3 separate regions of the Homo sapiens genome follow, and regions 2 and 3 are each linked to region 1. Evidence: promoter capture Hi-C in 16 types of primary human blood cells and fetal thymus (Javierre and others, 2016). All regions are on one chromosome and are shown on one strand. Each heading gives the region's core, a stretch centred on a gene start or on the middle of the fragment in contact. The rest is flanking DNA. Distances are from core to core; before and after follow the strand shown. Region 1 holds the start of AKAP8L (A-kinase anchoring protein 8 like). Region 2 has its middle 23 kb from the start of MIR6795. Region 3 holds the start of ILVBL-AS1 (ILVBL antisense RNA 1).

The links. The method cuts DNA at HindIII sites, captures the fragments that hold promoters and counts their contacts. A CHiCAGO score of 5 or more calls a contact.
Region 2: a fragment that was not itself captured here is called in contact with the fragment with the promoter of AKAP8L in region 1 in 1 of 17 cell types (M2 macrophages); the score reaches 5.7 in M2 macrophages.
Region 3: a contact is called between a fragment that was not itself captured here and the fragment with the promoter of AKAP8L in region 1, in 1 of 17 cell types (naive CD4 T cells). The highest score is 5.5, in naive CD4 T cells.

Annotation. Positions count from the first base shown.
Region 1 is chr19:15,417,643-15,420,342 of GRCh38, forward strand. AKAP8L (A-kinase anchoring protein 8 like) reads right to left here and starts at 1,346. Exons shown (of 14, transcript NM_014371.4): 1 at 1,269-1,346. The coding sequence starts at 1,281. WIZ (WIZ zinc finger) reads right to left here. Exons shown (of 13, transcript NM_001371589.1): 13 at 2,336-2,700. The HindIII fragment of the contact is 13,658 bases long and covers 1-2,034 here.
Region 2 is chr19:15,154,800-15,157,499 of GRCh38, forward strand. No RefSeq gene overlaps it. Among named protein-coding and RNA genes, the nearest start is that of MIR6795, 23 kb to the right of the region's middle. The HindIII fragment of the contact is 3,609 bases long and covers 1-2,700 here.
Region 3 is chr19:15,122,543-15,125,242 of GRCh38, forward strand. HACL2 (2-hydroxyacyl-CoA lyase 2) reads right to left here. Exons shown (of 16, transcript NM_006844.5): 2 at 2,383-2,527; 3 at 833-1,034; 4 at 574-701; 5 at 350-488; 6 at 151-262. The coding sequence starts at 2,517. It overlaps ILVBL-AS1 (ILVBL antisense RNA 1), which reads left to right and starts at 1,618. Exons shown (of 3, transcript NR_186314.1): 1 at 1,618-1,683; 2 at 1,922-1,963. RefSeq lists an enhancer at 1,984-2,700 and a silencer at 2,698-2,700. The HindIII fragment of the contact is 596 bases long and covers 1,153-1,748 here.

The sequences.
Region 1 (2,700 bases), core at 96-2,595:
CAGGGTAGAGGGGACTGGCACTACCTTCTTGCCTATGCCAACATAAAGTGGTCTACAAAGGAGCCCCACAGACTCACGTTGCATTCTCAGTTCTCAAAATTCCAAGTAGAATGCAGGTTACCTGGCAACCACACACGCTCAAGCCTATAATACCCTCACCAAACAGGGAGGCCTAGTGTAAGTCTCCTGGCCGAGAAGCCTCATCAGTCACTGCCAAGGCAAACCCAGGAGGCCTTGGCAATTCACCCAGTGATGATTTACAGTCGCCCAAGCATATTGCGGGGGGCGGAGAGGGGCTCTCGGATCTGTCACCCACTCTCCCTTTCAAATCCCATTGGCCTCCCACTGGCCTCCCTGGCTGATCTTCTAACAAGCCAGGCAGTTCCTGCCCGTAAGCCTTTTACAGCAAAAGCTCCCTGGGCCAGATATCTTTATTCGCTCCCTCCATTTAGGTCTCTGCTCAAATGTCACCTCTTTACAGAAGGCTCCAACCACTCCACGTAGTGGAGCGACCCCCGCACGGTACTGACCACCCTAAAATATATCCTACACTCGCTTATTTGCCTATTAAGATCCTCGCCTCTAAGCTGCTTGAGGAATTCTTGTCTGTATTCCCAATACCCAGTCTGTACCGGACACGGTTCATTTGACAGACGCAGAGGGAATTAACATGGAACCTTGTCATTCCTTGCAGTTCAGCCCCTAGGGGCCCAAGGCTCCCCGCTCAGCCCAAACCCTTCCAATATTTACTTATCCCCCTAGGGCCTGGCGCCTTTCCCAGTTCTGAAATAGACAAAAGGGGGTGGTGGGTGGGATCGGGATGGGGGTGTAGAGCTGCGGCGTTTTTGCAGAGAAACTGCGCGGGGGAGGACGCGACAATGGCGACGGCAGCCGAGCCTGCTGCCTGCTCGCAAGGACCAAGGCCTGAGAAAGGGAAACCTAAGGCGTCGAGGTCCAGGAGCGCAGGCCAGGGACGGAGGTGGTGGGGGCGGAGACCTCGTGCGCTGAGGCCCGGACCCACGGACACAGGCGACAGAAGCCAAGACATCAGGCGGCCGGGAGCCGGGACGCCGGCTGCAGACACAGAGAGCTGAGGCAACGAGGCGTGAGGGCAGCGACCCTGAGGCGACGGGCCAGCGGCGCCATTTTGTGACCGCAGGGAAGGCAGTGACGGGGCCCCAGGGGAGGTGCGGGCAAGCCTGGTGCGGCATCCGCACGTCCCTGTCCCATCCCCCACGCAGAGCCCGACCCCACCCTGCCAGGCCCACCTGTGTAGCTCATGGTGGCGGGCAACACAACATCCGACGACGCCGGCTTCTGCTGCTCTGAACATCCGACGCTGCGATAGCTGCTGCTAACCACAGGGTCCCCTCCACACACACCCGAGCCCCGCCTCCCGACCGCATTGGCTCATACCGGCCTCGGCTTCACGTCTATTGGAAGGAACCGCTGTCTATCTCTATGCCTCCTCATATCAGTGGCTGGAAGCTGCTGGCAATCTCGTGAGAGCCCCGCCTTGTCCCCGCCTTCTGTTATTCTAAGGCCTCAGTGATTGGCCTACAGAAGCCGGCAGAGAGGCGGAGTCCTATAGAATTTGAGGGGGCGGAGCTGTGCACTACGGAAAGGCCCAAGGCCCAAGCATGGTCGGGCTGGAGGAGCGCCCGTACCCTGGAGACCCGCCAGAGGGAGTCGGGTCTACGGCTCAGGGCAGGGCTGGGATGCCAACTCCGCCACCGAGGTGCTGGGTAGGGGACCTAGCTAAGTCTCTCAAATTCTCTGGCCTTCGGCTCCAAAACAAGCATAGCAAAGCCATGTTGAGAAGAGAAAATTAAAACAGCACCAAACAAGATGCTGGACACACGTTTCAACATTACGTGACAAAGTGTGTGTAAAGAAATCATTCTGGTGCCAGTGCACTGAATAAATGTGATTAATCGTAACAAAACGATAATATATTTATATGGCATATGCTTATATGTGTAATAATTCCGTTTGTATTGTGTGTCATTCGAATGCTCCTTCAAACCTGCAAAAAGCTTTTAATCCTCACTTAAAACTGAAGCTTGGAACTCATGATTTGCTCAAGGTCCTTGACAGTTACGTGTTAAAATGGGAGCTTTGCTTCTAAAACCCTCCTGATTCACTCTGGGCTCGAGAGATCCTGCAATAGTGCAGCCGGGCACCAGTCATGTCCTCAGTCTGTTTCCTGGGCATATGGAAACCCTGCCAGGGACAACTCATAATTTCTAGAGATGACAGAGCTGCACCGAAGAGTACTTAACACGTGTGTTTGTGAAAACTCATTAAGCTGCGCAATTACGACTTCTACGCTTCGTGTGTTTTAAAACTTTTTTTAAGGTATGCTGTTTCTTTTTGATATTGTTGATTTCTTTAGGTGTAATAGTGGCATTTACAACGTTGAGAGAAACATACTGAAATACTAAGAAGTTAACTGATCTTATGGCCAGGATGTGCTTCACACAATTCAGACAGGTAGAGAGAGGAGGAGGAAGCAAGGAGCTATAAGATAAATCTCTGACAGCTGAAGACATTGGTCATGGGTTGGTGATGGATAGATGAGAGTCCATTTTACTGTTTGCTCTACTTTTGTATAGTTGGAATTCTCCATGATAAACTGTTTTAATAAAACTCCCCCCACCCAAATGAGGCTTCTGCAGAACTTGCTGCCATACGGAACAA
Region 2 (2,700 bases), core at 72-2,571, 260 kb before region 1:
ACTAAAGTCTTGCAGCAACTCAGAGAAAATGTATTCAGAAAATTACTGAATATCAGTGAGAACAGCATACTCGGCATTTTAACATCTCTGGTCTTCTCCCCCACTCTCCAGCTCCGTGGTCGTCTTGAAAAATACCAGCCCAAACTCTGGTGCAGCCTGGCATCCACCAGAGAGAGCAAAACAGAACTAGAGCACTTTCAAGCCTCATTCCCAAAGAATTGTCATTATTTTTTAAATTTTATTTATTTATTTATTTATTTATTGAGATGGAGTCTCTCTCTCTCTGTCGCCCAGGCTGGAGTGCGGTGGTGCAATCTCAGCTCACTGCAACCTCCGCCTCCCAGGTTCAAGCAATTCTCCTGCCTCAGCCTCCCAAGTAGCTGGAATTACAGGCATGCACCACCACGCCTGGCTAATTTTTGTATTTTTAGTAGAGACAGCGTTTTACCATGTTGGCCAAGCTGGTCTCAAACTCCCGACCTCAAATGATCTGCCCACCTCGGCCTCCCGAAGTGCTGGGATTACAGGTGTGAGCCACCACACCCGGCCAAGAATTGTCATTATTTACCAAGCTAATGGTTCCCTGCAAGATCCCACTGGCAAAGCTCTCTGTATTTGACCTGGCTCTGAGATAAACCATGCAAAAAGCCTTCACTCTGGGGGTCCTTTGTTGACAACAGCTACAGGAAGGTATTTTAGCTTCATGGATGCCTGAGGCAGTGAGTGACAGTTGAGACAAATAGACTAAACCAAAAGCTAGGGAAGGAGCTGTCTATAGAGGCTTTGAAAGGCTCAGATAAGGCTGGGTGCAGTGGCTTATGCCTGTAATCCCGGCACATTGGCAGGCCAAGGAGGGTGGATCACGAGGTCAGTAGTTCAAGACCAGCCTGCCAACATGGTGACCCTGTCTCTACTTAAAAATACAAAAATTAGGCCAGGCTCAGTGGCTCATGCCTGTAATCCCAGCACTTTGGGAGGCTAAGGCAGGCAGATCACCTGAGGTCGGGAGTTCGAGACCAGGCTGACCAACATGAAGAAACCCCATCTCTACTAAAAATACAAAAATTAGCCAGGCGTAGTGGTGCATGCCTGTAATCCCAGCTACTCAGGAGGTTAAGGCAGGAGAATTGCTTGAACCCAGGAAGCGGAGGTTGCAGTGAGCCAAGATCACGCCATTGCATTCCAGCCTGGGCAACAAGAGTGAAACTCCATCTCAAAAAAAAAAAAAAAAAAAAAGAGAAGAGGCCGGGCACAGTGGCTCACGCCTGTAATCCCAGCACTTTGGGAGGCCAAGGCGGGCGGATCACGAGGTCAGGAGATCGAGACCATCCTGGCTAACATGGTGAAACCCCATCTCTACTAAAAATACAAAAAATTAGCCAGGCGCGGTGGTGGACGCCTGTAGTCCCAGCCACTTGGGAGGCTGAGGCAGGAGAATGGCATGAACCCGGGAGGCAGAGTTTGCAGTGAGCCGAGATCTCGCCACTCCACTCCAGCCTGGGAAATAGAGCAAAACTCCGTCTCAAAAAAAAAAGAAGAAGAAAGATTGGTAGATGGATGGAGAGAAAGATATATAAATGATAGATGATAGAAAAATAGAAAGATTCATAGATATAAATAGACAACAGAGGACAGAGAAGCATAAGATAGATATAGACGGATGAAAGATAAACGATAGATGATAGACATAGATAGATAATAAATAAATGATTGACATTCTAGACAGATGAGGCATGCGCAGAATGTAGGCAAGGAATGTTACTATACCTTGGGGCTCACAATGGTGGAGAGCCTTTATCGCTTCTATGCCAAAAGGGCCAAGCAGAGGAAACAATAACCCAGACCCACAGAGGGTAGGTAGCTGGAGGGAGAGCACTGCAGGTACCCTGCAGGCAGGGAGCCAGGGAGACAAATACATTCCACCCTCTAATCCCTCACCTGTGTCTCTCATTGGCCAAACCCAAGTGGAAGCCAGAGAGTAAGGAAACCCATTGATGCCATCTACCTGGGTCATTCTCCCAGAGCACAGAGAAGAGTTGAGGAAGATCAGTGCAGATCTGGAGGCAAAAAGCAGACACTCAGCTGTTTTATCATTGTCCTTTCAGTCAAAAAACCAACTAGGATGTCAATTCCAAAGTCCCCAACCCTTCCCAACTTCAGCATGCCAATGAAATCACATACATATGAATCCTTGAATCTCATTAGTTAATTTTCCTCCATCACCAGTGCAGGCTTCCTAGTCCTCAACCTAACATCCTTTCTGCAATCATTCCAGGGAGCTCCCAGTGTGGGTGAGTCTCACATGTGCTTACAAATAAGTCAGCTCCACCAGGTACGAAAGTGGGTTCCCGCTGTGGGACACTCTTCTTCAATATTCTGTTGACATGAAGCCAAGGTTGCATGATAGAGTGGACAAAATGGGTAGGGAGAAGGACTTTCTCCTCATTTGTACAGCACTTGGGAAGAAGAATACCCAAACTTGCTTAAGCCCCAGTAGATATTTTATTTTTTATTCCCAAGAATCTACTCATGCATAAAGCTAAGATGGACTTCTCTTGGGCCAATGATTCAAGTGCAAGGAATTTATTCGCAAGATCATTCCAGAAAGCTCTAGTAGGAGTGAGGAAGAGTAGGTTGCTGCTGTGGGCAACTGGGGCTTAATCCCAAAGAGCATCCTTTGGGAGACTCTGTGGATCATAT
Region 3 (2,700 bases), core at 201-2,700, 290 kb before region 1:
TTGCACATGCTGTTCCTTCTACCTGGAATGCTCTCCCCCCAGCTGTCTCCTCCCAGTCCACATGTGAATCAAAGGAGGATGGGTGTGGGCTGGAAGCTGCAGGAGAGAACGGGGGATAAAGGAGGGAATGGCAGGGGTGGGGCTATTCACCAGGAGACCACTCGGCCCACGAGGCCCTTGGGTGGCTTGGCTGGCACCATCTCCTTCTGGACCATGAAGTAGGGGTACAGCACGTCAACGGGCAGCTCCACAAACACCGGACCTGCAGGGACAGGGAGGACGCTGAGTCCATAACATGTCCCCAGCCCCTCGGCCCCAGCACTGCTCAGCATCACCATCCTCCACCTACCTGGGGTGCCCGACTGGGCGGCAGCCATCGCGGCCCTCAGGGTGGGCACAATGTCCCGCACCCTCCGCACAGACACACAAAACTTACAGAGTGGCCGGAAAAGGGACAGCTGATCAACAGCCTGGAGCGCACCCCGGTTCTGGCAAAGACAGAGGTGTGGCAGGGTTATCGCATGAGCCCTTCAAGCCCCCCTAGGCCCCCACTGGCCCCCAAGGACTGGGTACCTGCAGCAGAGTGCTGGCAGCCCCACCCAGAAGCAGGATTGGGGACTGAGCCATCTGAGCATTCTTCACCGCAGTCACCGTGTTGGTGAGGCCAGGGCCTGCTGTCACTGCCGCCACGCCCACCGTCCCTGGAACACAGAGCCCATCACAGCCATGCCCACTCTCTTGGCCATTCTTCCACCTCTGAAAAACCCCTACCCTCACAGACACTCTAGCCCACAGTCCAACCAGTCCCCAGCCCTCTCTGCAATGCCCTCACCGGACAGGCGGGCCATAGCATCAGCAGCAAAGACGGCCGTGACCTCATGGCGTGTGTCCACCACACGGATGCCCAGTTTCTCACAGGCCACCAGCAGCGGGGAAATGTGCCCACCGACCAGCGTGAAGATGAACCGCACACCATGGGCCCTCAGCACAGCGGCCACGTTCTCTCCGCCATGCCGGACGCTTGCCTTGTCCACCTGGGCCCAAGGACAGGTGGAGCAATAAAGTTAAAGGCCAGGGCAGAGGGCAGCTGGGAAAGGGGGCAATCCCCCTGCCCCAGGTAAGGGGGCAGGAGCAGGGTGAGAGGTCAAGAGAAGCTTGGTCTTGGTTAGGCATATATTATACTACATGCCAGGCTCAAACCAAGGCATAACATCTTATCAGATCCTCTTGTCATTACATCCCTCTTACAGCTGAGGACATCAAGGCTTGCCCAAGTAAGACTGAAAGTTCAATAGAACCCACGCTCTTAAGTGCCCCACTGTTACACTGCCTGTCTCCAGGATGGCAGGGCAATCAGGGAGAGAGGAGAGGGTTATATAACCCAGGGGGTTTGGCCAGGGGCACAACGCACGCAGAGCAGATGGCAGGGAGCCATCTGCTGTGACTCCTCCCTGCCCTCCAGTATCCTTGCAGAGCCTGGCAGCTGGGCTCCTGATCCCAGCCTCCCTGATGCCCTCCTGATGGACGCTAAACAGGCCCAGGGCTTAGTTGACAGGCTGCCAGCCACCATGTGCCTGGCACGGGAGTGAGCTGCTGGCACAGACTGTGCCGAGGCCTCCCAACTCCAGCTGCCTCACAGCCCTACACATCCAAGGCTTGCTTTAAATCTCCTAAGTCCTGAAGGTCAGTGGCATCACTCCTGGCTAGCAGAGGAAGCAGTAGAGAAGGGTTTGGGGAGGGAGAGGTCAAGCTTGGTCCCTGCTAGGAGAGAAAGGGTTGAGGAAGGGGTCTGGAGAAGGGGTAAATTTCAAACAGAGGTGCAAGGAGTTTAGGGGGACACCTGTGGGGTCAGCTCTCTCCAAACATGTCACCTAGGGCAAACCACCACACAATCTCTCTGAGCCTCAGCTTCCTCTTGCAGAAAATGAAGACAGAAAGAACAGCACCTACTTTCAAGGAAAAGGTAAGGGGTAGGTAAGAAAGTCTACAGTACTGAGCTCAGCAGAGGGCAACTGTTATGAAACTGTCACTGCCACCCCCTCGCTGGAGCCTGCCCTCTGCCCCATTTATCCCATCCAGGTTAGGGAGCACAGAGTGCTGTCCATCTGTTCTGTGAAAAGAGTCACTGGGGAAGGAGGTAGGTGGGGTGCGAGTGCCCCGGCAGCGGCAGCTTCCGTGTTCTCTCTTACCAGTGGCAAAGTCCAGGCCTCCATACACAGCGTGGCAATGGAGACAGGGCCCTGGACAGAACCTCTTACCAGTCCCTCTGGACTAGTCGGGGCTCGCTTTCCCACCCTGCACAATGAGTGAGCTGGAAGCAGCACCACGAGGCCCCTCCCTCTTTGACTGCCCCCAGCCCACCTCCCATTCTGTGCCCCGCACCTTGTGCAGCAGCTGATAGAAGAGCCCCAGGCGGTGAGCGGCGCCCAGCAAGGCGGCCACCAGCGTCCCGCAGGCCAGGAGCAGGAAGGAGGGGAATAAGCTCCCAGCGGGGGCGGCGGCCGCGGGGGTCTCCATGAGGTGGTACCTAAGAGAGAAAGGGCACTTCCCAGACTTGGGCGCGACAGGGAACCTCTCCGGAAGAAATCGCGCCCCTTCTCGCAGCAGGATCCAGGGCCACGACCCTTGCCGCCAGTTTCTGTGCGGCCACGCCCCCAACCCTGCCAGACCACGCCCTTTGTGCGCCTAGGCTCGGGGTGA